Linked DNA regions of Homo sapiens: region 1 is linked to region 2. Evidence: promoter capture Hi-C in 16 types of primary human blood cells and fetal thymus (Javierre and others, 2016). All regions are on one chromosome and are shown on one strand. The core of a region is centred on a gene start or on the middle of the fragment in contact, and the rest is flanking DNA. Distances in the headings are between cores, read along the strand shown.

The links. Contacts are between HindIII fragments. The CHiCAGO score rates a contact against its expected background, and 5 or more counts as called.
Region 1: a fragment that was not itself captured here is called in contact with the fragment with the promoter of C15orf61 in region 2 in 1 of 17 cell types (naive CD4 T cells); the score reaches 6.4 in naive CD4 T cells.

Annotation. Positions count from the first base shown.
Region 1 is chr15:67,744,987-67,748,869 of GRCh38, reverse strand. MAP2K5 (mitogen-activated protein kinase kinase 5) reads right to left here. Exons shown (of 22, transcript NM_145160.3): 18 at 613-639; 19 at 269-301. Among named protein-coding and RNA genes, the nearest start is that of SKOR1, 79 kb to the left of the region's middle. The HindIII fragment of the contact is 1,306 bases long and covers 1,453-2,758 here.
Region 2 is chr15:67,519,315-67,522,782 of GRCh38, reverse strand. C15orf61 (chromosome 15 open reading frame 61) reads right to left here and starts at 1,652. Exons shown (of 2, transcript NM_001143936.2): 1 at 1,189-1,652. The coding sequence starts at 1,534. IQCH-AS1 (IQCH antisense RNA 1) reads left to right here and starts at 939. Exons shown (of 6, transcript NR_040052.1): 1 at 939-1,264. RefSeq lists enhancers at 1,226-1,345, 1,986-2,065 and a silencer at 1,456-1,805. The HindIII fragment of the contact is 4,154 bases long and covers 1-2,237 here.

The sequences.
Region 1 (3,883 bases), core at 856-3,355, 230 kb before region 2:
TCAATTAATATTATTGTGTTTTGTCTTTAGGGCATCTGATGCCCCTGAGGACCAGCCTGCGGGATAGTCTGTTTTTGCAGGGTTTCTTGGCCAGAATCAGAAGAGTGGGATTCAGGACAAGGCCAGTTCACGTAACATAGCTCAGAGCCATACAACACAACTTGCTCCAAGGATGTTGGGCATTGTGCTTCATTAGGAAACAAAATATAAGCTTTCCACACCATTAGGAATGACTTTAGGAGTGAAAGCACATAAGACGATGCCTCACCTCATCAACAATGCACTGCAGAAGCTGGAGAGGCTGCAATGGAAAAGAAGAGAGGAAAAAGTATTAGCCTCTATGCAATATCTTTACAGTGGAGTGGAAAGAAAAAATCATTAATGCAATAAAATATAGCAAGATTAATCAACAACAGCAAACTCTTATAAAAACATTGATGCTCAGGAGGTTCTATTATTTCTAATGGTACCTAATCTAATACAGGCAGTTAAAGGTTTGCATTTTCTTCAAAATGCAATTTGCTAAGTTTAAAACAAGGCATTCAAGCATGCAAAGGAAGCAGCCATCAGGAAAAAGAAAAGTGAATTTTTTTCTGAACTCATAAAGCTTACCATTAAAGATCCCTGGTTTTTCTGAATCTGAAAAAAGGCAATATGTAATTAGCATGTCATAATCAAAATGACTCACTTGGACACATTATGATCACTGAGAGAAAATTATTGCATTGCTGGTGGCAATTTGTGGGCATGTGTTAACACAATTTACATAATGAAAATACACAAATGTTAATAGCTCGCTTCTCATTTATAGGCGAAAGTCAGCAGAATGTTAATTTCACACAACACTTTTTAGTACCCTCCAGGTTGTATTAGAATAGGGAGAAAAACCATAATCCATTTCAAAAGGCTGTTTACGATTCAGATATAAATAATGTTTTATATTGCTAGATTGTGAACACTGGGCTTAATGTTGCAATCATTGCTAATGTTACGAAGCTCACTCTTTTTAAATTAAAAACCGATTTATTTAAAATTGAAATTAAATCATAGTCAGAAATTAGAATTTTGGATTCCTGCCAGTGTCTGCTCACAATCCCCTATTTTGTGAGGAAAACTTTAATTATGTAGTTGAAGTATTTGCACCTAACTTAGGAGTGGGGTAACAACTCCACCTTTTCCAAAGTTCCTTCTGCCTGTTTCCAGGGCAGCAATGCTCTCTGGGAAAATCAAATTCATGGAAGTTTCACACTGATTTTTAGGGAATAAATGCAGAGTCCAGTAAGAGCGCATTTCTGATCAACATTCTGAAGGCAGGCTGCTCACACATTTAACACTGATAAACTGCATTTCTTACAAAGCTACTAAAACGTGACATAAAAATTAATAAAACATCCACTTAGTCATTAAAGTACTAAACACTTCAGTGCCTCCCCATCCAGGAAAAATAAAGCTTACAGTTATTATAAACTCAATGAAAATGAAACTCCAGGTACTACATTTTCTAACAGAGAACTTTTCAGGAACCAAATACTGATGGGTCAACTGTTTTCTGAGATAACTGGGCTCCAACCAGCCGGTAAAATACAGGGAAACTAGTAATAATCCCTTATATGTTTTTAAAGGTGTTTTAAAAAATTCTTTCCCATATACAAACTCATTTGATCTGTACAACCACCCTGAGTTTGGCAGGGATGATCATCTTTATTCTATGATGGGAAAGCTGGGCCTATCAGAGGACAGTGTCCGGGCCTGAGGCCTCAGCGCCAGGGTGTGGTGGTGCTGGGGCTCCTCCAGAGCTCCTTTCCTTCCAGCATCTGTATTACACTTGCCTATGATCATAGAGTTATTTGAAAACAACTGTATTTGTATACATTTATACTTGGTATGGTATTGTTGATAAATTATCCATTTTGACATGTTGGTTCCTCTCACCTAGACTGTGAGTTTCTCAAGAGCTGCAGCTATGTTTATGCATTTCTTTTGCATCCATGTGGCTGATCAGCACACCCTTCTTCCTACTGCCTGAGTGTTTTAAAAAGTGTTTTCCCATATATTTGTCAAATGAACACGGCGCCCACTCATTGCTCTTATTGGCTTTTCATCACTTCCTCCCCAATCACTACTTTCAGAAACCTCTGTCCCAGGTTGACTGGCTTAGTCTATGTTGATAGTCCCTGCTTGATGTTGTCCTGAATTACTGCTTCTTCTGGTTTCTCCAGTCCATGAGTATTTCCAGACAAGATTCTGCAGGTAAAGATTTACATTACAAGGGAAGGCGGAGCTGTAACCACCACCCGGAAGTGGTTAAGAATTTCAGTAACAAGCCAAACTACCTTTAAAAAAATACTGAAAAGCCTGGATAACCTCTCCTATGACATGAGATATCTATGGAGTTTGCTTTTATTTTTTTTTCAAGCACACACTGATACTCCCCCCACCCCTACATTCCTAGTAAGATATATCTGCTTCAACAACGGAGTTATTTGTAATGAATAAAGAATCAGAAATCCATTTCTGACATCAAAGAGAATGTGTTTCACAAATTTCCAAGAGTCAGGGGGATGACAACATTCTCTGAGGAGAACATGCAGCAAACATTCTAAGTGAGAGGTTTTGAAATGAATTCAGAAATGGATTATGAAACACTGTCCCCAGAAACATATGAGTTGTGTGAATCAGATTAACTGAGGGGAGGAAACTTCCTCATGAACTGAGGTCTTAAAGTCTCTAGTTTGCCCTATTTTGCAGGTTAAAAGCTTAGTCTAAGTCAACTTAAAACTGTACTATTTATGCTTGCTCTTCATTAAAAGAAAGAGAAAAACAGCAATATCAAAGTCTTTTTTTATAATCTTATAACTATACTGTTTTGCCCAGGTTTTTAAAGAGAGACGTTATCAGGTTTTATTATACAGTTTTGATAGCAACATATTATATGAAATCATCTTCATAAATTTTGTATTAAGGTAACAGTGCCAGTACCTGAAATTGATTCAAAATGCTTAAGATACTCAATTACTTTTTAACAGTTACACAATGCAGTGACTTATATCTTCTATTTCACAAGAATTTGATGATGCAACATCATTGTAATTGATTCATTTTCTCAATTAAATAAAGCTACTGTGCTTTTCTTTATATGAATGCCACATAGACCATAGAGTTAGATGTATTATCTCCTTTTTCTGTCTCAGATATATTGCCATAAAGGCTGTATTATGTTCCTCTGTTAATTCCACCAGAAAATTTAATGCCACAGTCATATTTTTAAAATTCTGAACTGCCATGTACTCGGCTGTATTTATATTAGGCATATTTTTCACTGCTAAACTCTTTGTTGTTTACCTTTTTCAAGATCACATTACTGTATAGGCACAGCAACCATAAAACAGATCCAAACAGTCAACCTCCAGTCATTGCCTCTGCTTTTGCACACAGTTCATGAAAAAGTGAAGCCCCTAGTTTATAGCACATTAAAAGTGGAACCAAGGGTCCTCAATATAAAATGTTGGCTTTGTGAATGCCTATCTTTATTCTGGGTCTGCCTTCCAAATGCTTAGCTGTGAGAGCAGAGTTCAGAGGAACGCAATAATATTGTTAGGGCTGATGTACTGCCTGCACCTCACAACATATGAAATGCTGTTTATAACTAACTTGTCCAAGCCCTCATTCCTGCTTATACATTTTGCGTGTGTTGAGTGTTTTCTATGTCTAACTAGTACTTTGGGACAATGAGAGAACAGTAATTGTTCCAGTCACACACTTTGTTAATCAGTCTCTAGAACTAGTTGCATTTTGATAGATGAACCTCTTCCCTTTTCTGGGCATAGATTTTTTTTTTTCTTTCATTAGCTGTTAGATTCAAGATTTAAAACCACACTAACAG
Region 2 (3,468 bases), core at 403-2,902:
ATTTCTTACTTATGAAAAATGCTAAAATAAACTTATACTTCTCGAATCTAGTTAACACTCCAGTCTTTCCAAATAATTTCGAATTGAATTTCCTAAGTCACCTCACCCTTCAACTTCAACCAACCTCCAAAGTAGTGGGCATGCTCTATACAGTCCATCAGCCAAATAATAAGAGGCATTTTTAAAGGATAACACGTTGCTAAACAATTATCTCCTTACAGGACAGTCCAGTGGAGTAACGGCTCAAAAAGCCCACGACTGACATATGTGTTATTATAAGCACAAATACACAGACTATTTTTAACCTTAATGGACGATCAGATTATGTAATAGTATTAGTAGTACGGCTGCGCAGGGTTTAGTTTTAATCCTGGCTTTAAAAACCTGGCTGGGTAACATGGTTCATTCAGCTCCATGGCTAGATTTTGAATCACTGAAATCTAGATTGATTTTATGCCAGCTATTAGTAAGTTCAAAACATCTTGAGGCCTTCTGTTTTCCCCTGACCTATAAAAGATACACCCATGTCCATGTTCGTACCTCCCTCTTCTGTCATTAAACCAAAAGAAAATAAACACCTAGTGACAGTAAACATCCTCAGGGCGTCTCCATGAAAATATACAAATATTAAAGATCTTTAAAAATCTTTTAGGCCTAGCACCTCAGGAAGCTGTTATGTCTGGTGAAAACCTTTGGTGCTTTTAGTAAAACGAACTTGCCGGGAATTCATACAAAGAAAACAAAAGAAACTTAAAAGAGTAGTTCCAGTTATTGCAACATAAACGCAGCTGCAAAGTGATGTTCACGGGAATGAGTCCTGCCATGCAGTAGGACGGATGTCAACTTCAGAGCCACTTTCTAGGGGGCGTTTCCTGACGCCCCCTGGCTTACTGCCCAGGCCAGGGGTCTACTCTGGTTAACATGGGCAGGACAGGAGGGCGACCCGCCCCTCCCTAGGCCCGAGGACGCGCCCGCAGCAGGCGAACGGCTTCGGGTGCCAGGAGCTCAGCAAGCTGGGGACCCCCTGGGCGAGGAGTACAAAGGACCCCAGGCGAAGCCGGCGCCGGGAGGCAGAGCTGACTCCCGCGGGACTCTACCGGCCTGCGAGCGTTCGTCACGTGCTCGGTGGCTGAGGGGCCGTCCCGGCCGGGCGGGCTTCACCGCGTGGGCGCGGCAGTCGCCACTCACCGAGGTTGACGACCTTGAGCGCCGTGAAGAAGCGGTTCTGCCGGGCCAGGTCCTGCCAGGGAGCCTTGGAGCAGTGGTACTTGATGAAGGGGAAGCAGCCGGTGCGCAGGACGTGGTAGTTGGCGCCCTGCACCGGCCAGTTGAAGTGCGAGAGGCCGAACTGGTCGTTGCGGACGGCGCTGTAGGGCACGCAGAAGGAGGTCCAGTGCGGCAGGCGCCGCTGCAGCAGATGCCGCGTCAGCACCTCCGAGGCGCTGGGCTTGGGGCGGGCGGCGGCGCGCGAGGCCCACGGCCTACACAGCAGCAGGCGGAGCGCGACCTCGTGGGCCCTCCTCAGGGCCTCCATGGCCCGCCGCGCCGGGGACGCAGGCTGGTGTCCGCAGCCGCTGGCGCGCAAGCGCGCCCCCGGGCGAGCGCCGGGAAGGCCAACCGGCGCCGCGCGGGTGCCCGAGAGCCCCCGGTGTGCGGCGGCGCGTGCGCACAGCGGCCCCGTGGCCTCCCGCTGGGGGTGGAGTCCGGGGGATGGGAAGCGTGAGCTGCGCGAGGCGGAGGGTCACCTGCGTCAAGGAGCTGGTTTTGAGTGGCCAGGTGTGACCTCACGCCGTCATTAGTAACTCGGGCAGGGGAGGGATTCGGGGAGGTCTCATCAATTTGGGCCTGAGGAAAATTCAGGTGGAAGACAATTAAATAACTAACCACCTCCGCAAGGTGCAGAACTCAAACCCAAGTCTCCCTCCCACGCCCTGGGCTCCAGGGAAGCCCTTGGGTGTTGTTGTTGAAACAGGACGAGGCGTGACCCCGGGTCTGCGTTGTTTGGTAAGGCCGGGAGCACTTTTGTGTGTAGGTCCTCGCTGTCGGGTTCACTGTTTAAAATTAGTCCCAGAGATTTCAAAATCAAAAGTTTATTTAAAAACCTCACGTGTCTCAGTGCAGCGTCCGAACACACAAAGGCACCTCCCTCTAAGAACCTGGTAGACGGACCAGGAGCCTCTTATCGAGCTTTGTGGACCTCAGTCACCCATTACCAATCCATTACTTTCGGAAAAGCTTTGCTCAAACTTTGCGGCCTCTTGAGGCAGTAACTTACGGACAAAACTGCTTTTAGAAAAGGATTTCCTCTTTTGTCCTAAACTCATTTTGTTTGGAGAGGCCATACATAAACAAGATGATGTGTCTGAAACCACCTTATGTAAATGAGGTACAGTAATTACGCGTTAAGCATCATATAACAATTACTATCGTTGCTAAAAACTCAAGGGGGATGTAGGATAGTATGGCGAAATTTTATATTCCCCAGTTTTTTGTTTTGTTTTGTTTTGTTTTTTTGAGACGGAGTCTCACTCTGTTGCCCAGGCTGGAGTGCAGTGGTGCAATCTCAGCTCACTGCAACCTCTGCCTCCCAGGTTCAAGTGATTTTCCTGCCTCAGCCTCCCGAGTGGCTGGGATTACAGGCGTGCACCACCACGCCTGGCTAATTTTTGTATTTTTAATAGAGACGGGGTTTCACCATGTTGGCCAGGCTGGTCTCAAACTCATGACCTCGTGATCCACCTGCCTCGGCCTCCCAAAGTGCTGGGATTACAGGCGTGAGCCACTGCACCAGGCCTATTCCCCAGTTTTTATTGAACATTGAGCACCCACCAACATATGCCGAATCTTGAACTTTACCTTACAGAATTTGAAGTTGAACTTTACCTTATAGAACTTGAACTTTATAGAATTTCTTTTTCTTTTCTTTTTTTTAGAAAGGATCTCACTGTTGTCTAGGCTGGAGTGCAGCTGCTCGATCTCGGCTCACTGCAACTTCTGCCTCCTGGGCTCAAGAGATCCTCCCACCCTCAGCCTCCCAAGTAGCTGGGACTGCAGGTGTGTGCCACCTACACTCGGCTGCTTTTTTTGGTATTTTTTGTAGAGGTGGAATTTTGCCATGTTGCCCAGGCTGGTCTTGAACACTTGGGCTCAAGTGATCCGCCCGCCTCGGCCTCCCAAAGTGGTGGGATTACAGGTGTGAGCTTCTGCACCTGACCAAATTAAATTTTGAAAAAGAGTGGAGTCCTTTTTCAAACGAAATCTGTTGAAGGTCCCCAACATATAAAGTTGGTTAAAACTTATGCTTTAGGCCGGGCACGGTGGCTCACGCCTGTAATCCCAGCACTTTGGGAGGCCGAGGCCAGTGGATCATCTGAGGTCAGGAGTCCGAGACCAGCCTGGCCAACATGGCGAAACCCTGTGTCTGCTAAAAATAGAAAAATTAGCCGGGCGTGGTGGCACATGCCTGTA